Linked DNA regions of Homo sapiens: all the other regions are linked to region 2. Evidence: promoter capture Hi-C in 16 types of primary human blood cells and fetal thymus (Javierre and others, 2016). All regions are on one chromosome and are shown on one strand. The core of a region is centred on a gene start or on the middle of the fragment in contact, and the rest is flanking DNA. Distances in the headings are between cores, read along the strand shown. Region 1 overlaps VEGFA (vascular endothelial growth factor A). Region 2 holds the start of SPATS1 (spermatogenesis associated serine rich 1). Region 3 has its middle 12 kb from the start of VEGFA. Region 4 has its middle 39 kb from the start of VEGFA.

The links. The method cuts DNA at HindIII sites, captures the fragments that hold promoters and counts their contacts. A CHiCAGO score of 5 or more calls a contact.
Region 1: a contact is called between a fragment that was not itself captured here and the fragment with the promoter of SPATS1 in region 2, in 1 of 17 cell types (naive B cells). The highest score is 7.3, in naive B cells.
Region 3: a fragment that was not itself captured here is called in contact with the fragment with the promoter of SPATS1 in region 2 in 2 of 17 cell types (fetal thymus and neutrophils); the score reaches 5.3 in fetal thymus.
Region 4: a fragment that was not itself captured here is called in contact with the fragment with the promoter of SPATS1 in region 2 in 1 of 17 cell types (non-activated CD4 T cells); the score reaches 6.0 in non-activated CD4 T cells.

What each region holds. Positions count from the first base shown.
Region 1 is chr6:43,772,540-43,778,455 of GRCh38, reverse strand. It overlaps VEGFA (vascular endothelial growth factor A), which reads right to left. Exons shown (of 8, transcript NM_003376.6): 2 at 4,064-4,115; 3 at 791-987. Among named protein-coding and RNA genes, the nearest start is that of VEGFA, 5.3 kb to the right of the region's middle. RefSeq lists enhancers at 3,410-3,704, 4,757-5,522, 5,523-5,916. The HindIII fragment of the contact is 190 bases long and covers 1,156-1,345 here.
Region 2 is chr6:44,339,188-44,344,572 of GRCh38, reverse strand. SPATS1 (spermatogenesis associated serine rich 1) reads right to left here and starts at 1,923. Exons shown (of 9, transcript NM_001372081.1): 1 at 1,805-1,923; 2 at 1,339-1,477. The coding sequence starts at 1,477. The HindIII fragment of the contact is 2,984 bases long and covers 1-2,226 here.
Region 3 is chr6:43,755,124-43,760,968 of GRCh38, reverse strand. No RefSeq gene overlaps it. Among named protein-coding and RNA genes, the nearest start is that of VEGFA, 12 kb to the left of the region's middle. RefSeq lists enhancers at 1-183, 184-684, 2,365-2,424, 2,040-2,576. The HindIII fragment of the contact is 9,019 bases long and covers 1-5,845 here.
Region 4 is chr6:43,728,385-43,734,052 of GRCh38, reverse strand. No RefSeq gene overlaps it. Among named protein-coding and RNA genes, the nearest start is that of VEGFA, 39 kb to the left of the region's middle. RefSeq lists an enhancer at 1-43 and a silencer at 147-441. The HindIII fragment of the contact is 5,532 bases long and covers 1,386-5,668 here.

The DNA.
Region 1 (5,916 bases), core at 1-2,500, 570 kb after region 2:
AAAGGAAGGAAGCAGATCACAGAGGTTAGTGACCCAGCCAGCCATACCCAGATGGGACAACCCTGGGGCTCCTGCCACTCAGCACCCAGGGGTTCTGCAGAGCAGGGATGGGTGGTGGAGGCAGGGAGGACCAAGAGCTCTAGCAGGAAAGAGGCTCAGGCCCACCCCAACTCCCCCAACCCTGCTGGCCTCAAGGAGCCCTTGTTCCACTTGAGGCCAAGACATGGCTGCAAGGGTTGGCCAGGCTGGGAATTCAAATCCTAGGTTCTTACCACTCCCCATCCCCTCCCCTTCTTTCATCCTCTCTAGGCTTCACCCTGACTCCTAGTAGATACCCGAAAGCAACCCCCTCCCTGTGTTTCACAGCTCCCTCCCACCCTATCTGGGCTGAGATGTGCCCCATTACCAGGTAACACCAAAAGACTTTTTAAACTCTCCATGGACCAGGCTCATCCAGCTTCCCAAACAAAGCCCCCAAGAAGGGGGGGCACTCAGGACTCTCTCCAAGAGAGGGAGAGAGGGGCTCCTGACACAGGCATCCATCTGTCCCCTCCTGAGCCCATGGGCAACCATCAGGGAGAAGGAGATGGTTGGGGCTTGCTGGGAACCTGGGCTGGGAATGAAGCATCTTCTCCACAGAAGGCAAGACCCCACCATACCTCCCCTGTGCAACTCAGGGGCAGGAGCCAGACAAGGCAAATCTAGCCAGGAAACGACCTGGGACCACCTGTTCCCAAAGTGTTACCCCCCTCCCTATCCCCCCCTTGCCCCACTTCCCAAAGATGCCCACCTGCATGGTGATGTTGGACTCCTCAGTGGGCACACACTCCAGGCCCTCGTCATTGCAGCAGCCCCCGCATCGCATCAGGGGCACACAGGATGGCTTGAAGATGTACTCGATCTCATCAGGGTACTCCTGGAAGATGTCCACCAGGGTCTCGATTGGATGGCAGTAGCTGCGCTGATAGACATCCATGAACTTCACCACTGCATGAGAGGCGATGACACATGAGCCCGGTGGGCGACACAAAAGATGGCTAGCCCCTCTCTCCACCCAGCTCTGTAATGCCACTCTTTGGAGCTTCCGAATCAGGCAAGTCCTTCCAAAATCTAACGTAAGTCCCTCCTACTGTGTTTGAAGCACTTCCCTAAGCTTTCCACCATCAACACTGGTGAAGGCCTGTTTTCATTCCAGAGATCACACGATGTACTCAAGTTCCAAGGGACATGGCCTGCCACATCTGATCCCGCCACCTCACTGTGACAGCTGAACTGAATCCTGGGCCAACCTCGATGCCAGAGGACAGTCTGAGTATGGGTATACCCCATGGGGATGCTCTAAGCTTTCCCTAAAAGGAGGAAGAGCCAGCTTTGCCAAGCTAGTCTCCAGTTTCCTACGTCCTCCCCACAACCACTACCATAACGTCAACCATACCAACAGCTGTTTATTGAGCACTTACTACATCCTGAGTACTGTGTACAGTAGTCCACAGCTATCATTTCACACAAGTTTCTCCACATGGTACTATTAGACACTATTGAGATTCCATTTTACAGATGGGGAACAGGAGGCTCAAAGAGGCTAAGTAAGTTGCCCCAAGGCCGCACAGCTAGTAAGTAAAGGAGTCAGAATTAGCTGACATCAAAGTGTTCCCAAGCCTATATTAGGCAAAAACAGAGGAGGCACCTTTCAGGAGGAGGCACCTTTCCCCCTGCCAGTCCTCTTCCCCAGACATGAGCTGAGAAGGTGGTGGGCATCAGCACAGGGGCTGGGCCCTCCTGGAACCCACAGGTGGCAGTGGGCGGACACGCTGTGCCAGCCCTGCCAGCCACTGATAACCCCGCCCAAGAGGGCAAACTGCTTGCATCATGGAAAAAACAGTGCTGCCACTGTAGCCACGAAACATTTCTAGAAGCTGATCTGAAGGGAGACCAGGGTAGAGACAGTTTCCCAGGCTGGCCACGAAGCCTGGGGTGCACTGGAGCATGAAGGGGTAATTCTGGGCCACAGAGGCGGGGCCCTTGAGAATAAATAAATGCAGGACTCTGGCATGACTACTCCAAATTGTGGCCCAGCCTGCCACGCCTATCGCACCCCACCACCACTACCACATAGCAATCCTGTCCCTGAAATAGGTTCCCTACCCAGAGGGAAGAAATAACACCTGGCCAGTGAGGAGGCCCAGGCTCTGGCCATGAGTTGGTATGACCTTGGGCCAGTCCCTCCCCTCTCTAGGCCTCCAACTCTGCTCAACTGTGTAAGTGGGTTGGGCTGATCTCTAAAGATGCTGAAACAGGCTGAAAAAGGTGGTGTTTTGGCTTCCATTTCCAGCCCTAGGAACAAGTGCTCTTTTTTCAGCCTGGGTAATATGAAGTTTAGAACTTCACCAAAGCATCTTAAGTGTATGCTTCGTGGACTTCCACCCCAGCTCCCAACCCCCACCCCCCAGAGACCACAGCTGAGCCTCCCCCTCACTCCTCCCTCCAAGGTCTGCTTTCCAGAAGAATAAAGGACAATGAGGGGGGCTATGTACACAATAGGTTGATTGGGAAGAAGGTGGGGAGAAGGCCACAGGTGTGAAAACAGAAAGAACAGTGGGGAAACAGGCCAGTCCACTGCTTCCTGTGAGGTCTCTATTTCTTTTATCCAGACCACCAATGGGCACAGAATCCTTCTCTACCCACGAAGGGTTACGGCAAAGCATCATCAAAAAGAGTGAACGAGACTAGAAGTCTGAAAAGGTCATTTTTTAAAGCCAAGTCGATAGGGGAGAAGATGACTAATCAAGAAGTTTTGAACTGCCCCTTCATCACAATTGGGACAGAGGAGGGCCAGGCTTGTGGCCCAGGAGGGGATAGCAGGAAGGTCTGGCCTGGGCAAGGGGTTGGTAACTGAGGGTAAAAAGACCTGGGGTAGGAATTCCCCCAAAAAGCTTCCCCTTGGAATGAATCCCCAAGTCCCATGGGAGGTGGAGGCGGGGAACCTCACCCGCATCCTTCATCAGGCAGCCGCCCCTCCAAGGAGGGCTGGCCTCCACTGCCTGGGGGAGCACACACGTACACTCCAACAACCAGGCTTTCGTGGTTTTCCTTATTTATCGCAGACAACCTTTTCTCCAGCAAACAAAGACCTTTGTCCTGCCTCTCCCAGACCAGAGACCACTGGGAAGCTGGAAGGGGTAAGTGGCGCACTGGAAGCAGGGGGCCGGTCAGTGGCTGAGAAGCCAGGTCCTAGGCCAAGGAAAGGGCTCCTGGGGTGGGGAAGGAGGAGGCAGAACAGGCTGGGCATCACCACTGCTGGCCACTACCCAGCCACGCCAGATTTAGGTCAGGGAAACTCGCGGGAAGGAAGACCCCAGGGCCTTCCCTCCCCAGAGGTGGAGAGCACAGGCCACAGTCAGTGGTGGGGAGAGCCAGGGTGTCCCCAGAGAAATGGGAGGATCCAAACCACAACGGAACAAAAGGCAGGCGGACTCGGGGTTGGGCAGGGGGGCGGGGCGCCTGGGAGCTACAGCCAGCCCTCTGCTGGCCTGGGAGGGAAGTTCACAGCACCCGAACATAGTCAAATGGGGTTTTCTCCACCCCCAAAGGAATGCAAACCAGGGAAGGGAGGAGAGATCCCATTAGGCTGAGCCCTCTGTGCCTCCAGCTCACACAGGAAGGGTCACAGTTCCCACAAATGGGACATGTCTATATAGGAAATGACACTAAATGTCCACTCTCCCCTGGGAGCTAGGGGAAACAAGGGACACTTCCCCCAACACCTAGGATCCCTGAACACTGTCTTCCTGCTCTGTGCGCACGACTCCTTCTCCAAATAAAATTTTACTGGAAAGAGCAGAAGAAAAAGGCAACAAGTCCTACTTCTAGCAGAGACCTGAACAGCGGAGAGTCCTCACGAAACTGAGGGTGAACCTCGTGGTGCCCAGCTCTTTCTTTCTTGATCCTTATATTCCTGTGCCCCTTCCCCTTCCTCCCCACAGTTCTGAAGAAAAAGGAATTAGGCCATCCACCCATCCCCTGAGAGGACAGGGAACCCCATCCAACAGCCAGGGGGACTCACCTTCGTGATGATTCTGCCCTCCTCCTTCTGCCATGGGTGCAGCCTGGGACCACTGAGGACAGAAAGAGAGCAAGGCATGGGCATGGGCAGGGGCTGGGGTGCACAGGCCCAGCCACCCAGCCCCTCCTCCCTCCTCACTTCCCTCCCACCAACAGCCTCTGGCTTCTCCAAGTCTTCTGAGTCGAACAGGACACAACCGGGGGTCCCCACGGGCACAGAATATGCCCACCACTCCTGGACTGCTATGGTTATGAACCCGAGGAAGTTAAAGACTAACCAGATGTTGGGGGCTGGGGAGCTCGAAATGCAGGAGGAAAACCCCAGAATGCTTCACTGTCGAGGTCCCCTGTACCTTCCCCACACTTCCCTCTCCCTGCTCTCACTATCCCCCTAGTTCCCTGGTCCAAAGCCATGGTAAGTATTAAGGTCAAATAGGAGGACAAATTTGGACTGGGGCAGGAAGGAAGGACTAGGGGCGAGAAAAACAACATGGTGACCTTCTCCTGCTGACATGACAAATACCAGGGTGAGCTGGTGTTGGAGACGGAGGGGGGTGCCGAGGACCGAAGGGCACCAACCACCCTCCCCCATCCAAGCTCTTCTAGTCCTTAGGAATAACCCAGCATGCCCACAGGTTGCTTAGAGGGTAAAAACCCAGGAGGAGACCCTGGGGGAGAACCACATTTTCCTCTCTACACAAATCTCTCCAGAGCCTCAATAGATTTCCAAAGCCTCACCTGTCTCCCACTCCTACCTGTTCCCTGGTTTCTTCTCCCTCCCAGGGTGAGGAGGTGCCAAGCCCCTCTCACCTGGGCACCTTCAAATGCCACCAGGGACCAGGGAAGGCTTTTATGCCTTGGCACTGCCCAGCCCCTAGGGGGCCCCCTGCACCACCTTAGGCCTGAGGCCTCCTCTAACCCTCCCCACCCGCATCAGATCATTCCTCCCCTCGCCAGAAGCTGTGAAGGTCAACACGCCAAGACATGCGGACCTGACAGCACCCAAAAGGAAAGGCTTCTGCCAGCCCTTCCTGGGGGTCTCCAGCTCTCACCAACTCCCCTCCCGCCCAGCACTCGCAGAGCAGAGGGGCACTCTAGCCTACGGAACACCAGACCCTGCTAGGGGAGAGTCCCACTGTCCATCTTTCTTTCCCTCTCCTTCCCACACACCCCAAATGCACCCCACTCAGGTACCCCAGCCCTGCTCCCAGAGACAGCCAAGGTCACAGGAAGCCCCTCTCAAGAGAAAACAACAGTTACCAGGCTTCCAGCTGGACAGCTTACCACTGCGGCTCCTGCAGGGACCCCCTGGATTCTGCACCTCAGCCCCCTCACCCATTCCCATGACACCCCCTGCCTTCCCCCTGACAATATTCTCCCGGGACCCTCCACTCCTCCTGGGCCCCAAGGAGGAAAGGGGACGGAAATTTCATACCCCTTCCAAGGCCAGGGAGCACAGGAGGGGCGGTTCTAGGCAGGCAGGGGCCAGGTGTCCTTCTCTGGGGGCCTCTGAAGGTCACACTGTGGCCAGGCAGCCACTCCTCCCCCTCCTCCCTACTTGGAGGCCTGTAGCCAAGGCCTTTGTGCCAGGGTCTGAGGAACTTGCGGTGTTAGCAGCGACCCCTGTCCATGGCTTTCCTCTTGCCTCCTCTCCAAGGGAATTCTGGCTGAGGGAAGGCGTCAGAGAGGAGCGGAAAGGGACCCTTTAGAGTCCCTTTCAGAAGCAAGTTGGGTGGGCAGGTTTGGAGTTCCAAAAAAACACCTGCTCCAGGGCTGCCTTTCACCAGGACAAAGTGTGTGCAAGGCTGGCAGGAGCTCCTTTCCAGGGTTCAGGAAGGACTATTCCCATGCTGC
Region 2 (5,385 bases), core at 674-3,173:
TCATTTAACCAAACACTATTTCCCACCCCTGCTTATCTGCTTCACAAGGGGCCTAAGGATCAAGGACAGAAGTTTTTAACCCGTTTTTTGATTCTATCCTCTCCCCCATGAGCAGTAATGAAAGCAATCGGTTCTCTGATGGAAAAATGCACACACACACACACACACACACACACACACACGTATCTTCAATTGGTTTGTGGAGCCCCTTCCTTGCTGAAATCCATAGACTCCATGTTAAGCTAAACTCAGATGTATTCTCCTGAATAGACTCACCTACACAGCAGGAAAGGACACCATGGGTCTTTCATTAATGTGGTCTGGGACCTGGTACCCTTCTGCTACCCCTAACTCGAAAACATGGATCCTCCCTAGGACATCCTTAAAACAGCAGCTTCTTCCTTTACCCCAAACTGGAAACTGCAGGAAGGTCTGGAGCTTAAAGTTAGAATCCCAGAACCCTTTTCTCCTTGCTGTTGCAGACACACTTGGACAATTAATAGCTCTAACTCCTCCAGCTCCTCCTTCTCTACGGTCCTAGCTTATATTAATAGCTGGGTGGAATGAGTTGTACCTCCCTCCTTTCTCCCCACTGTGAAGGAGAATGAGGAGATCACACACCCAGAATACAGAAGACCAGGGAGAAAGCTAAGATCTGATCCCGCAAAGTCTGGATATTTCACAACCCCTTTTTGCAGCACTCAGGCCACTCACCCATAACAGGTAAATGAGAACTTGAGCGCAGGCGCACTCTGAGCTTTTCTGGGAGACTGTGGCTGTTCAGCGCCATGACACTGTTCTCCAAAGGCAAACGTGCCCCCAAATACCCTCCTCGGCCTTAACCAATTATGGAGCTACCAGCCATTATTTAATTTTTAGAGTGTTCATAATTCTCACCTGAACTGTCCCATCCAATAAACAATGACACAAACCTACTAATATCTGAGCAAAGGAAAGATGAAAGGACACAGGCTCGAAAGTATGGCAGACTCATGTCAAATCCCAGGCTCATGTCAAATCCCAGGCTCACCTTTTATTAACCCAAGCACTGGGCAGGTCAAATCTCTGGCTCCCTTTACTCATAGGTAATATACTTCTCCACTGCTGTGAGATCCAGTGAGGTAATTTATGAGACTCTCTGCTTTGGTGGTGCTCTCTGCCTAATCAAATCTTGGGTTAGCACAAACATAAGCTACTATTCAAGCAGCTCTTTTTACATGCCCCCAAACTAGCTTCCTTCTAAACTTCAAATGGTGCCCCCCACCTGCCCCCGCCCCCGGGTGTAGTATACTTGGATGTGGCCACCAACTCCACAGCCTGGATTTCTTAGAACTCAACTGTAGGTCCTCTCCACCTCGGTCATGCCAGAGTCCCTTTTTTCTGGAACCTTCTCCAGCTGTCTGCCGCAGGTCGTGCTTGAGATGGAGGGGAGACGGCAGCCCCGTGGACTGTTTCCAGTGAGCATGGATGGACTCATCTGTGCCCATGATGATTTTAAATATTAGAAGCAACCCAGAGACAAAGAAAGTCCCTCGTAAGAAAGGTATCAGTCAAAACAAACAAATTCCACAAGCCACCGAAAGTCAGGAGGGCAGGACTGGCCTCTAAACGGGAGCCTTACTCCCTCCACCTGGGCGTTTCGTGGTTTGGAAGCCCTGGGAGCCCCAGCGAGTCCGCCCCCAGCCCGAACCAGGCTCGCTGCAGCCCCCATCCAGCTCAAGGTGCTCCTTCTTTTCCACCTCGGGGTCTTCCCACCCCCTTCCCCAGGGGAGGCCCGGGTCTGTGCTCAGAGGCCTCCACGGACCAACGAACCAACTGGCAACTGAACTGCCGAACGCACGCCGCACGCCGAGGCCTGAGAACCGAGAGCCTAGGGCAAAAGGGACACCGCAGCCGCCTGCTTCTCCCACAGAGGCGCGTTCCGGGGTTGCCGGGACACCGGCTCCAGTAACGCGGCGCGCAGCGTCCTGCCTGGCTCGGCTGCCGGCCCCCCTGTCTGTCACCCCCCGGCTCTCTGGCCATTGGTACAGGATGGAGGCTCCTGAGAGGTACGGAGCAAGGAGCTCCAGCCATGGCCCGGCGTCACAGGCAAGGACCGCTGCAAAAGCCACTTTGTGATTTTGGACTTTTTTTTTTTTTTTAAGAGTTGTGGTTCTTTTCCAGGCAATTTTCATTATTAGAACTGTAGGCTCTGGTAGCAGTGAAAGATGCGCCCTCCACAAAGCTTGCAGATGCCTGGTTATAATTGGCGTTGATTAGACAGGATCCACCTACCACTTACAGAGCGCCTTTTCTGGGCCAGGCGCCCTGGTGGATATTATCTTCCTTAAACAGCCAGCTGCGTTTTTCAAAATAGAAAACCAAATTTTAGCAAAGGCTTGCGCAAGGTCACCCAGAAAACAGATTCATTTCTAAGTTTCCTCATTCCAAATCCACCACTCTTTCCATCATATTGACTTAAATTTGTCTTCCTCATCCTTTCCAGTATCTAATAAATCTTGCATAGAAAGCTTTTCTCCAAGTCTAGTTTAAGTCCCTAAATTCGTGTTTAGACCAAGTTTTCCCTTCTTTTGTTACTGATTATAAGAGAAATAAATGGTCATTATAGAAATATTGGAAAATATGGAAAAGTATTATTAATATCCATGATCTCACCATACAGAAGTTAAATACTTTTTTCCTGGATAGCTATTGCTATATAACAAATCACCCTCAAACTCTGTTGTTTTAAACAACAACATTCATTTTTAATTTCTGATCCTGGTCGTTGGCTAGGCTAAGCTAGGCTGTTCATGCTTGGGGTCTCTCACAGGGTCTCAGTCAGAGGTCACAGAGGAGCTTCCTCACTCATGTGTCTGGTGATTGATGCTGGTTGTCAGTTGAGGTCAGCAGGGTTAGCGCCAGTTCACCCATGTGTGGCGTTTCCATGTGCTTTCTCACACCAGTGTCTGAGTTTCCAACGTGAGCATCCCAGGAGGACCAGGCAGAAGTTGTATTGCCTCCATAGTCACAAATGCATGGAGAGGGAACTTAGATCACACCTCTCCATCATGGTCATACTGTATGAAGAGCACAGGGGACAGGGGATCTTGTGGCCCTCCTAGAAAATACAATCTCCCCTACTGATATTTAGGGGTTATTCCTTGTCCTTTTTCTATGCACATGTATGTCATATACCCCTAGTGATTTACACCCCTGCTGATATTTAGGGGCTCCTTCCTCTCTACCCTTTTTCTGTGCACAAATATGTTAACATATTATAGATAGATAGATAGATAGATAGATAGATAGATAGATAGATAGATATAGATATAGATATCTCTTGTATTGGGCTTTTAAAATTTAAGATTATAGTTGATGGCTGGGGCTGTGGCTCACGCCCATAATCCCATAATCCCAGCACTTTGGGAGGCCGAGGTGGGTGGATCACTTGAGATCAGGAGTTCAAGACCAGCCTGGCCGTCATGATGAAACCCGTCTCTACTAAAAATACAAAAAAAAAAAAATTAGCCAGGCGTGGTGGCAGGCACCTGTAATCCCAGTTATTTGGGGTGCTGAAGGAGAACTGCTTGAACCCGGGGGGCAGAGGTTGCAGTGAACTGAGATCATGCCACTGCACTCCATCCTGGACAAGAGAGTGAGACTCCATCTCAAAAAAAAAAAAAAAAAGTTGGCCCTCCATATCTGAGGGTTTTGGATCCACAGATATGACCAACTACAGATTAAAAATATTCAAAAAATATATAAAAATTTAAAATAATACAGATAAAAACAGCAAAGTATAGCAACAATTTACATAGCATTTACATTGCTTTAGGTATTATAAATAATCTAGGGATGATTTGAAGTACCGTACAGGAGGATTTGCATAAGTTATATGCAAATACTATGCCATTTTGTAAAAGGGACTTGAACATCCTTGATATGCTCAAGATTTTGGTGTGGGAGGGGAGTCCTAGAACAAATCCCCCAGGGATACAGAAGGATGGCTGCATATCCTGAGCATTTCCCCTTATTGAAGTTAAAAAAACATGTTATCTCTTTATCCCACGGTAGGAGAGGTAACAGTTATTTAATAGAAATGTTAGCTGGGCAACAGCATAGTTAGTTATTAATGGCTTGACTCAAGAGGCTGCCTCACCAGGAAGGCAGAGATTTTTGTCTATTTTGTCCACTGCTGTATGCCAAGCAACTAGCACAGTGCCTGGCACATATAAATGCTCAATAACCATTTATTTAATGAATGAATAAATGAGTGAGTGGGTGGGTGGGTGGATGGATGATTACAATGGTCTGAGCTGAGCCCCTCCCTCTCTTGCTTGCATCCTCCTAGGAGGAAAGAGTCCAGGTTTCTAACCTGAACCACCAGGTTCCAAGACATCAAGATCTATCTGTTGGTCAGGTGATTTTGCAAGGCAGGCGAGTGAATCACAGAAGGGAAACTTTCTCATCCTTAGTGAGTCCTGTGAACTGTGACTCACAAGCCTTCCCTTACTCTGCAGCTTAAAACCTCCCAGGCCACCTTGCCCTCACTCCTTGGGCAAGTTTTAGATGCCTGTCGCACCAGGCCTGCCCTGGCAGCTGTGCCCAAGGTTTGGCGAGGCACTGGAGCCAGCTAAAGTGTTCTCAAGGCCGTGGAGCTGCCTCTGATCAGCTTGGCCCCAACGCACAGCCAGTGTTTTCCCAGGATTGGCACCTGAAGCTTCCTGTGCACAGCAGCCCCACAACCAGAGTTCAGCAGCAGAGGCGAGGGGAGGATGCTAGATGTCCCCAGAAGACTGAGGTTCCTGAAGGTCCCAGAAAATCTTGCCTGTATAGCCGGGAGGGTGAGCACAGTTGGGCAAGAAGAAGGCCTTCCTCAGTGTTCCCTTGCCGTCCCCTGTCTGAGCACCCCAAACCAAGCCCAGCCTGGAGGTTACTGCAGCACCTGTGCAGGAACATGGAGGCCTGATGCAGGGAGGGGCGGTGGTCCCAGGTCCTTAAGGTCAACTCAACTGTTTCTCCAGCTTTAGGGCCCTCCTTTCAGCTTTACAGTCCGGGATCCTGATGTTCCACAAGCCTGGCTCTCCTGGGTCTGAATGAGCTCAGGAAACCTGGGGCTCCAGGCCAACACAAACACGCACAGGGTTTACGTGTGAAGTTTTCCACTGAACTATATAAAATTTCTGGTTATGTAGGTGAAACATAGTTGCATATCAGCAAATTTATGTTATTCAACTTAATCATGAAGGACAAATACTTCTAGCAGGTTTCATGGTGAGGCCAGAGGAGGGTGGGCTGAACTTTAACCCCCTCCCTTCCCCTTTGCTCCTTCTCCCTGAAGGACCCCACTTCGCTTTCAGTAGCTGGGAGCTTGTCTCTGGGAAGGAATGATAGACAGTGAGG
Region 3 (5,845 bases), core at 1,445-3,944, 580 kb after region 2:
CTACCACCACCACCCACGACAGGGCCCCATAGAGAAGAGAGAAGTGTTTCCAGAAACCCAGCTGTTCCAGGCAAGCTGACCTGGGTCACAGTGGCCTCCCCACCAAGGCTACAGAGAGACTAGGCATCGGCTGAGCACCCCCTCCCAACACCACCACAGGAGTTACCTTGAAAGCCCCTCTGACAAATAGTGTCCCTGAAGCCCTGTCATTAAGCACTCTGCTCCCCGAGCAGTTCCTCAGATTGCCATGTGTGGGTCCTGGAGGTTAGGACACCTGGGTTCAAACGCAGCCACTGTCACTGCCTTGTTGTGTGGCCTGGAGCAAGGCACCGCCCATCCCTGCCTCAGTGTCCTCCTTTCCAGACTGAAGGGGCTGGACTGATTGCTAAAACCCCGTTAGGGCTCCCCCTCTATTGCTGTAGGGAACGGGAAGGAAGCTGTAAAATGAGAGCTGTGGATACTCCCGCCTGTGTCCTGGCCGACTGCAAGAGACAGGGAAGGACCAGGGAGCACCATTCCAGGACCATCTTTTAGAGATACTATAAAGATTACTCAAGTACAGTTGGGCAGGGAAGCAGAGAAAAGTAAACTCTTCAGTCCATTGTCTGACCAACATCCTGAGTTTGCCCATTGCCACCAACCAGAACAGCTGAGATTACAGCAAGAAGAATTTAAATCAGATAAGCAGAGGTCTACCAAACTCATCTTCTCTAGAGGATTTGTGGAGTGATAGCAGCGGGATGTCTTTCTACAGACTTCTAGGCCCATTTCTGGCTTGGATGAAATGCTGGGGAGTGGGGGAAAGGAAGAGAAGACAAAGGAGGAGAAGGTGAGCCAAGATGTCAGCTCCCAGGCACCCGCTTTGGGAGAGGGGATAGGCAGGGTGCCCCTGCCTGCGATCCAGGAGCTGAAGTGGGGGAAGGAATGTGTCAGGGGTGTGGTGGGGCTGAGAGAGGCGGGAGAATGGAATGAAAAGGCTGTCAAGTGGTGATATGAGTGTTTGTGGGAAATACCGAGAAAGACCCTTTCCTGGTGGGAGGGGATGAAAGGGAGCCTCAGCCCTGGGCTCCCCCAGCCTGACTCCAGGGACTACGGAACCATGTTGGTGCAGGGCCTGAGGCCTCCACTATGACATTAGCTTGGGCAGGGGAGCCCAGAGCCACTGTTTGAGGTGAGATAACACACACCTAGCCCTGGCCCCAGGCACTGGGGAGGGTAACAGGACAGAGATCATGAGGAGTAAGGGTGCTTGCTTCCTTCCCCCAGACTCCTGGGCTGCCCAGACCACCCCTGCTCTTCCTCTGGGTGGAAGCCCCAGACCTCCCCAGGGGCAGCAGGTAAGGCTCTAGGGAGACATCTATCCTCGCTCTACTCGTGGCCTGGCCCTGGGGCAGGTGGAATAATTCTGTGACTCATTCCACAGTTACTCCTCCTTCTCTTCCAAACCCAGGAATCTGGGAGATAAGGAAAAGGATGAGCAAGAGAATGGGTCCCCTTTCCCCATACTTTAGTCAAAAATAATGGACCATTTGAGGCAAGGCCAGTTACTTCGATGGGGGCCAGGTGAGCAGGTGTGTTGTTATGCAAATGAGCTTATGCATATGTATTATGAGGAAGGGTGGGTCTGCCCTGCTTACTCCCCTCTGGAGGCCCACACCCCAGCACCGAGTCTCCCCGCCCAGAAAGGTTTGTTAAGTGATTCCACAGCCTCTGTCCACTCTGGCCTCTCCCCCAGGCTGTCTCCACACCACCATCCTCACCTTTTTCTATGTGTCCTTCCCTACCAGGAGTTGAAGATTTCTTCCACCGTCTCCCAGGTTCTGCCTACATCAACCCCGATCACAGCCACCTTGGGACACAGCTCCTCACACTTCCTCCCCTCCTGTCCTAAAGGTCCTCAGGGATGTCTGGCTCTCTAGAACGGGGCCACAGTCCCCCAGGGCTGGCAGGGGCAGCCTCCAGGCTCCTCGAAGCTGCCCAAGAGGGAGGTAGGAGTTGGAGAGGGGCTGTCCCACTGGCCTGGCTGGGTGCGGGTTAGGGAGCCCCTTCTCTGGCCCACAGGAGGGAAGACCCGCAACACCCAGACAGAGGTGGGCGGCCTTGAACCCCCTTCTGCCTGAGACGACAGAACAACCTTGCTGGGCACCTTCCATCAGTGGGCTTCAGATGTAGCTGTTGCCCAACCGTGGCCACACTCCAGACATTCTCTGGAAGCCCAGGGCCCCCTCCTCAGTCAGGACCCCTCCCAGGTACCTCACCTAGTGCCACCCCGAGCCTCTAGAGGGCGAGGGAGAGCAGTGCTGGACTTCCCAGCCTCTGGGGCATGCCCAGGAGGCTTTCTGCACAGGCCCCTGGTCCCTGAGGAGGGGGCACCACGCCGGAGGCTGTCTATCCAGACTCACCCTCTAGGAGCAGAGAAGTATGAGGTATGAGCCAGGGCTGGGACGGGGACTGCTTGGAGGATTCAGGGACAGAAAGGTAGGCTGGACTGTGGAGGACCCTGAAGAAGGGTAGGTTTGAGTGGTGGAAATATTATCTGAGTAATATTCAGATAATATGCTGAAATACACTGTTCATTTGAGTACAGAAAGGAGAGCAATGGCTTCAGCCTCAGGAATCTCTGCCTGACCTTGGAAGAGAAAGAGACTTCTTGGCTCACATTGCAAAGCACCACTACCCTCGCCCCATCCAGGGTCAGAACTAGGGAGAGGCAAGCGAGGCAGCTAGGCGAGGACCAAATGTAAGGAGTAAGGAGCTGCTCACTCTTATAAGGGTCGTGCAGGTGCAGCGCAGGCCCTAAGAGTGAGTACCTCCTTAAACACTGCACCAGGCCCCGCCCTCTTGGGAGCCTGCCTGGGGACTAAAGCTGCAGGGACATTTAAGACAGAGTTGGGGTGAGGAGTAGGGTCACTTTTTCACACTGGACCCCTCAAAGGAAAGAACTAGCACCTAACTCAACTAAAGGAGAGTGGGGCCACAGATGAGGTGAAACAGACAACTGTCTTGGCCGCGCCTGGGCTCTGTGTGTGTGTGCCTGTCTGTGACAGTGTCTGTGCGTGTAATTTGTTCATTCAGATTGTGGATCTCCCCACTTCTAGCTATCTGTCCCTGGGCAAGTCATGCAACCTCTCTAAACCTGAGTTTCCTTGAAAACCCATGCTAATAATACCTATACAGGGTTCTTGTGAGGATTGAATGAGATAATATATGGAAAGGGTGTAGCAAGAGCACCTGGCCTGTGCATAGCAGGAACCAAACAAATGGTAGTTTCTATTCCCATTATTATTCATAATATGATTGTGTGTGGCCCCTTCTTTCCCCTGCCCCCTTACACATCCATCCCACTCCAGCCAGCCAGGTCTTCTGACAGCCCCAAGCACAGGTTGCTCATTTCTTCATCCTGGTCTATACAGTGCCAGCCGTGAAGATTTGCCTCTTAAAACATGAAGCCTTCTTAGACCACTTCTGCTCAGCAGTCTCCCCTAAACTCCTACAGCATGAGCTGTCTATACCTCTTCATCCAGCCTCAAATGCTGTCTGATGTATTTAATTTTGTAAAGGGGTGTGTGTGTGTGTGTGTGTGTGTGTGTGTGTTATCTTTCTCCAAGTGCATTCACAGAGAGAGTGTATTTTTCAGTGATCTCTTACCCCATACAAGCCTAAGGACTAATACAGGCCTGCAGGTATAGACATCCACATGTAGACTTCTTTTCTTTTTTTTTGTTTTTGTTTTTATTTTTGTTTTTTGAGACAGGGTCTTGCCCTGTTTACCAGGCTGGAGCGCAGTGGCATGATCTCAGCTTACTGCAGCTTCGACCTCCTGGGCACCTCAGCTGCCTGGGTAGCTGGGACCACAGGCATGTGCCTCTATGCCTGGCGAATTTTTGTGATTTTGTTTGTTTGTTTTGCAGAGACAAGGTTTAGCCATTTTGCCCAGGTTGGTCTCCAACCCCGGGGCTCAAGCAATCTGCCTGTGTTGGCCTCCCAAAGTGCCGGGATTACAGGTGTGAGCCACCATGCCCAGTTTACTTGTAAACTCTTTATGAATGAAAATAATAATGGTGACCGGGCGCAGGGGTTCACGCCTGTAGTCCCAGCACTTTGGGAGGCCGAGGCAGGTGGATCACCTGAGGTCAGGAGTTTGCCAGCCTGGCCAACATGGTGAAACCCTGTCTCTAATTAAAAAATACAAAAATTAGCCAGGTGTAGTGGCAGGTGCCTGTAGTCCCAGCTACTCGAGAGGCTGAGGCAGAAGAATCACTTGAAGCTGGGAGACGGAGGTTGCAGTGAGCCAAAATCGTGCCACTGCACTCCAGCCTGGGCAACGGGGTGACAATTGGTCTCAAAAAAAAAAAAGAAAATAATAAAGGTAAATACTGTCTGGGATCATATCCCTACTGTGTGCCTTATGTTATCTCATTAATCCCAACAATAGCCCTGTGAAGTAGATTACAATTATAAAACAAAGGCCAGGAGAGTTTAGGTAACTTGCTCACAGTCATACAGCAAATAAGCAATAGCGCTGGGATTTAAACTCAACTCTCTCTGGCTCCAAAACCAGCACTCTTAACCACTATGGCTTGAATACAAGAATGAACAATCAACAAACCAAAATTTCCTTTCTGTACTCAAAGAAAGAAAGAACCAAAAAGCAAGCAGATATCAGAACTTCAGTCAAATGCTTTCAAGGTTTCAAATCAGAATCTGTTGGGGTTCAAGTTCAGAATGTTCTGCTGTTCATATTGAGACCAGAGCCCCCACCTGGTCATTACACCCAGATGGTCTCAGAGGCACCCAGAGGGTCCTGCCTTACTCAATAGGGTTTTAGACCATTTTTTCAACAAATGGGGTTGAAAAAATATTCATCCCAGAGTGAGTCAGAAAAATCACTTACTTTGTTCAATTCCCAGAATGTTCCTGTCGACCCTAGCTCTATTTTAACTTCTGTAGGAGAAACTTTTATTTGCTCTCCATTTGTTTATTAACAATTTGGCAACTTTTTGATAACTAAATGGACAACATTGGCCAGTCAGCCATATTACATGGAGTAACTACCAGAAAACCACTCACTGACTCATTTTCACACATACTCCCATCAATCCCCAACTGTTACAATAAAATGTTGTCAAGGGGAAATGTATCCCCTTCAGGCCTCCGTTCTCCTTTGCCATCTTCCTTTTGCTGCTGTGGCATTAAACTGCCTTGGAATCTCTACATTACATTCCCCTCTCTGTGACTCAGTGTCCTTACCTGGGAAATGAGGATCATAAGACCACCAACTCTACAGGGCCGTGGCAAGGATCCAACCAGGCAATGTGTAGAAAACACAGCGACTGGCATGGAGGGAGAGCAGAGGAAATATTTGGGGCTTTAGGTGCTGTCATTTCAAGCCTGGTAAAGATGCCCAGAGGCCTGACCCTCTCTAGCTGTGGGAAAACTGCTTCTCCCAGCACGCTTTCCTACCTGTCTCCTAGGATCCATGTCCCTGAAAATCAGCCCTCACTCACTACTCTCTCGTCCCTCCAGTCACACCCCAGCCCCTCAAGACTTAGAATCATCAAACTCCATGACTAAGAAGGCAGTGAGAGCTCATCTGGCTCAACTTTATTTTTTCTGAAAGGAAAGGCAAAACTCTGCAATGTAAATGGTTTGCCTCTAATCACATATCATTTGCTTCTAATTCACCTGCAAAATCCTATACATTCAAAAAGTGGACCCTACACACCTAGGCCAACAAAACCAAATTTGCTCATAGCATTTTTGGACTTTACTTCCCCTTATGAATTGATCTTAGACTTCATTATACACCAAACAAGGAAATCAATTTCTTAATTTGGTGCCACAC
Region 4 (5,668 bases), core at 2,902-5,401, 610 kb after region 2:
AATCCGAGTTCTTCCCATCCTCCCCAACTTGGGCACTCCCAAAGGCCCACTTTGGAGACAGGCAAAAGCCAGAGAGAAGGGAGAAGAGTGGGGCTTCTCCTGCCACTGGGGACAACACCCCAAGGACAGGGTGGAGGGAAGCTTGTCTAATCTTTCCCACTCCAGCCCAGCAGGGACCCGGGCCAATTCGAAGTGTGGAGGGAGGGGGATTGAGCCAGGATCAGAGGGCAGGGCCAGGGAAGAGGTGCAAAGGCCTTGCTCCCTCCTCTCCCCGTGTTGGACATTCAAATATACATGTACAGCCCCAAGGATGGCAGGGAGGAGAGCAGGGAGTGTCACTGAGCATTCATTTTACAACCTGTCTAGCCATTTGCCTTTTGCCAGGCCCATATAATAATAGCAAACATTGGTTGAATGTAGCAGGCATCCTTCTAAGTAAGAAGTTTAGTGCATGACCTTGCTGACTCCTCACCACAGCCCTACGAGGTAGGTGCCATCATCTCCCCTATTTTATGGATGAGGATATAGCAGCCCAGAGTGGTTAAGGAACTTAACCTTAGGGAGAGTGGAAATGTGAACCCAGACTACACTGCCTGGAGGGGGTTATCATGGGATAGGGGGACAGAGCCAACTTGTAACCAACCTGTAAACAAATAATGACCTTACAAGCAGGAAGAGTTTCAAAAAGAGATGTATGAGGTACAATGAGTCCCTGGAGGAGGGGCACAGTGGACAGGTGTTGAAGGGGAAAAGGAGAACCAGGAGAGTCTTCTAGGACAATAAACATTTAAATTGGATTTGGGAGGTTATGGGGTGTTTCCTAGTTTAGGTTGTTTTATTTTCTTTTTCACTTTTTTTATTATGGTAAAATATGTATAACATAAATAGTCACCATTTTAACTATTTTAAGTGTACAATTTAGTGGCAGTTTTTAATTTTGATGAAGTCCAATTTATCTATATTTTTCCTTTGTTGCCTGTGTTTTTGGTGTCATACTAAAGAAACCATTGCCAAATCCAAGGCCTTGAAGATTTTCCCCTGTTTGGTTTCATTTGTAGAGATGAGGTCCCACTATACTGCCCAGGCTAGTCTCAAACTCTGGGCTCAAGCAGTCCTCCCACCTCAGCCTCCCAAAATGCTGGGGTGACAGGCATGAACCACCACACCTGGCTCACTTTTTTTTTAAGAGTTTTACAGTTTTAGCTCTTAAATTTTGGTATTTTATCCATATCATCTGCAAACAGAGATCATTTTATTTCTTTCTTTCCAATCTGGGTGCCTTTTATTTCTTGCCTAATTGCTCTGGCTAGAACTTCCATTACTGTGTTGAATAGAAGTGACAAAAGCAGCCATTCTTATCTTGTCCTGATTGTAGGGGGAAAGCTTTCAATCTTTTGCCATTGAATATGATGTTAGCTGTGGGTTTTTCATATACAACTTTTTCATGTTAAGGAAGTTCTATTCCTAGTTTATTAAGTGTTTTTAATCAAGAAATTTTTGTATTTTCTCAAATGCTTTTTCTGCATCAACTGAAACAATTGTGTATGGCTCTTTTTTCCTTCATTCTATTAATGTAGTACATTATATTGACTGATTTTTGTATGTTAAACCATCCTTACATTATGGGGATAAATCCCACTTGGTCATGGTGTGTAATCCTTTTAATATGCTGCTAAATTTGGTTTGCCAGTTTTTTGTTGAGGATGTTTGCATCTCTATGCTTAAGGTATGTTGGCCTATAGTTTTCTTGTAGTGTCTTTGGCTTGGTATCAGGGTAACGTTGGCATCACAGAATGAGTTGGAAAGGTTCTCTCCTCTTCAATGTTTTGGAAGAGTTTGAGAAGGATTGGTGTCAATTTTTCTTTACATGTTAGGTAGAATTCACCAGTGAAGATATCTAGTCCTGGACTCTTATTTGTTGGGAGGTTTTTGATTGCTGATTCAATCTCTTCACTTGTTATATCTCTATTCAAGTTTTCTATTTCCTTTTAAGTTGGTTTTGATAGTTTGTGTTTCCAGGAATTTGTCCATTTCATCTAAGTCATCTAATTGGTTGGTGTGTAATTGTTCATAGTATTATCTTATAATCCTTTCTATGTCTATAAGATCAGTAGTAATGTCTCCACTTTCATGTCTGATTTTAGTAGCTTGAGTCTTCTCTCTTTTTCTTAGTCAATCTAGCTAAAGGTTTGTCAATTTTGTTGACCTTTTCAAAGAACCAATGTTTAGCTTTGTTTATTTTTTTCTATTGTTTTTCTATTATCTATTTTGTTTATCTCTATTCTAATTTTTATTATTTCCTTCCTTCTGCTAGTTTTAGGGTTAGTTTGCTTTTCTTTTTCTAGTTCCCTAAGGTGTACAGTTAAGTTCTTGATTTGAGATTTTTCTTCTTTTTAATGTAGGCATTAACAGCCATAAACTTCTCTCTGAGTACTACTTTTGATATACTCCATTAGTTTGGGTGTGTTGTGTTTTCGTTTCATTTTTCTCAAAGTGTTTTCTCATTTTCCTTGTGATTTCTTCTTGGACCCACTAGTTGTTTAAGAGTGTGTTGTTTAAATTCTACATAGTTCTAAAATTATTGTCTTCCTTCTGTTGTTGATTTCTAGTTGTATCCCTCTGTAATTGAACATATATTATTTCAATCTTTTTAAACTTAATAAGATTTGTCTTGTGACCTAACATGTGGTCCATCCTGGAGAAGGTTCCACGCATACTTGAGAAGAATGCTTATTCTGCTGTTGTTGATTGAAGTGTTCTATATATTTCTGTTAGATATAACTGACTCATGACATTGTTCAGTTGTCTATTTCTTTATTGATTTTCTGTCTGATTGTTCTATCCATTATTGAAAGTGAGGTGTTGAAGTCTCCAAGTATTATTTTAGAACTGTCTATTTCTCCCTTTAATTATGTCCATTTTTGCTTCATATAGTTTGGGTTTAGGTATGTATATGTTTTTAGGTATGTATATGTTTATAATTGTTATATCTGCTAGGTGAACTTTTTTGACTTAATATCTATTTTGTGTAGCAATAATATAGCTATCCCAGCTCTTTTTTGATTACTATTTATTTGCATTGGATATCTTTTTCCATCCTTTTACTTTCAATCACTTTATGCTCTTATATCTAAAATGAGTCTCTTGTAGACAGTATATCATTTTTTATTCAGTCTGCCAATCTCTGCCTTTTAATAAGAGAATTTTACTCATTTATATTTAATGTAATTACTGATAAAGAATGATTTACTTCTCCCATTTAGTTATTTGTTTTTCTGTATGCTTGTGTGTTTTTGTTCCCCAATTCCTCCATTACTACCTTTTATGTATTTAGTTGATTTTTTTCTAGTGTACCATTTTGATTCACTTCTGTTTCCTTTTTTGCATATTTTTTAGTCATTGTCTTAGTTACCTTGTGATTACAATTAACATCTTAACCTTATAACAACTTAGTTTTAATAATACCAACTTAGTTTCAATAGTATACAAATGTTCTGCTCCTTTTTTACAATTTTTTATTACTTATTTATTTATTTATTTGACATGAAGTCTCGCTCTGTCACCCAGGCTGGAGTGCAGTGGCACAATCTCAGCTCAATGCAACCTCTGCCTTCCAAGTTCAAGCAATTCTCCTGCCTCAGCCTCCCTAGTAGCTGGGATTACAGGCACTCACCACTATGCTCAAATTTTTGTATTTTTAGTAGAGATGGGGTTTCACCATGTTGGCCAGGCTGGTCTCAAACTCCTGACCTCAAGTGATCCACCCACCTTGGCCTCCCAAAGTGCTGGGATTACAGGCGTAAGCCACCATACCTAGCCTCCTTATTTATTTTTTTTAAAGATAGGGTCTCACTCTGTCACCCAGGCTGGAGTGGTGGCACAATCACAGCTCACTGAGGCCTCAACCTCCTAGGCTCAAGAGATTCTCCCGCCTCAGCCTCCCAAGTACTTAAGACTACAGGCATGCACCACCATGCCTGGCTAATTTTAAATTTGTTGTTGTTGTTGTTGTTGTTGTTGAATGGGGTCTCACTATGTTATCCAGGCTGGTCTCAAACTCCTGGCCTCAACTGATCCTCATGCCTCAGCCTCCAAAGTGCTGAGATTACAGGCATGAGCTACCATGCCCGGCCTCTGCTCCTTTGCCTATCCATTCTTCCCCCTTTATATTATTATTGTTACAGATTACATCTTTATACCTTGTGTGCGCATTAACGTAGATTTATAATTATTGTTTTACACATTTGCCTTTTAAATCAGTTAACGACCTTATAATTGGCAAAGATTTCAAAGAAAGAGGTACAAGGTACGATGAGTCCTCGGAGGTGGGGCACTGTGGGTGGGGACTGGGAGGGAAGTAGGAAACCAGGAGAGCCTTCCAGGAGAATAAACATTTGAATTGGAATTCAGTTTTGAAGAACAAAAAATTATTATGTAAAACTAATTATTCACAGGAAAAGATACCCAAAATATTTTACTCAGGACAAAAAGTAGGTTACCATATAGGGTGAATTATCTCATGTTTGCAAATATGTATGTATTTATACATATTTAAAGATATATGTGTATAAATGCATAGAAAAACATTCATGATTTTAACCACCGTATTTTAGCGGTGGTTATCTCCAGTTGTTGAAACTATGGGAAGAAGAAACATTTCCTTTTTTTTCTAGTTTTTTCTACAGTGTTTGAATTATATACAATGAGCGCTCTTCACTCTTATAACTGGGAAAAACAATAATGCCATTTTTGTTCTGAAGGGTAAAATGAATACGTGGACATTTACTACGGAGACAAAGTTGGAAAGAACCTGCTAGGCAGAGGGAACAGCACAGGTAAGAGCAAAGAGGAATGAAAATAATACCCTATTACAGGAATTGCCAACCATGTGGCATGGCTGGAGGGCATTGGGGGTGACTGAAAAAGAGTTGTTTCCACGGGCCACATTACCAATGCCTTTCATCTCATAAAAAGAGTTTAGAGTTGGTTCTTGGCACAAGGGCAGGAGAGTAACAAGTTTTGATTTACATATTCAGCAAATTAGTTAATAGGGGTGGAGAGAAGCCCAGAGTCTGGGAGGCCGATGATTGAGGAAGGAGAAGCTGGGGCTGGAGGTGAGTCAAGGCTTAGAAGGTAGAAAAGAAGAATGGAAATAAGAGATAAGTGGAAGCCAAATTAGATAATAATTATCCCTGAGTGGGAAGTAAGTTTGTCTGTCTTACCAGGATTTCCAGGGTTGCAGCCCAGCCTGGCATATTAATGGCAGGAGGCCAGGTCTAGAGATGATCATGATGAAGATGATGGTGATTCATGATGAGGAGGAGGAAATTTCCATTAAAAGATCCCGGTAGCCCTTTATAGCTTACAAAGTCCTCTGACTTCCATGTCCCAGAACATCAAAATGTTATGTTCCTATTCTGCAAATGAAGGTCTGAGGCCTGGAGAGGTGATAGAACCAGAGCAAGACCCAAGCACAAAGGACCTTCCCCTAGGTACACAGGTGGGCAGCCGCTGCTGTCCCCAGCAAGCCCGAGTGATGACTGTGTGTTCACTGGCTAGCTATGTGATCGTGGACGGACATTGCCCGTCTCTGTGCCTCAGTTTCCTCTTTTATAAAATGAGAAAAATACTTCATGTGGTTGCTGAAAGGATGATATGACTGAAAACA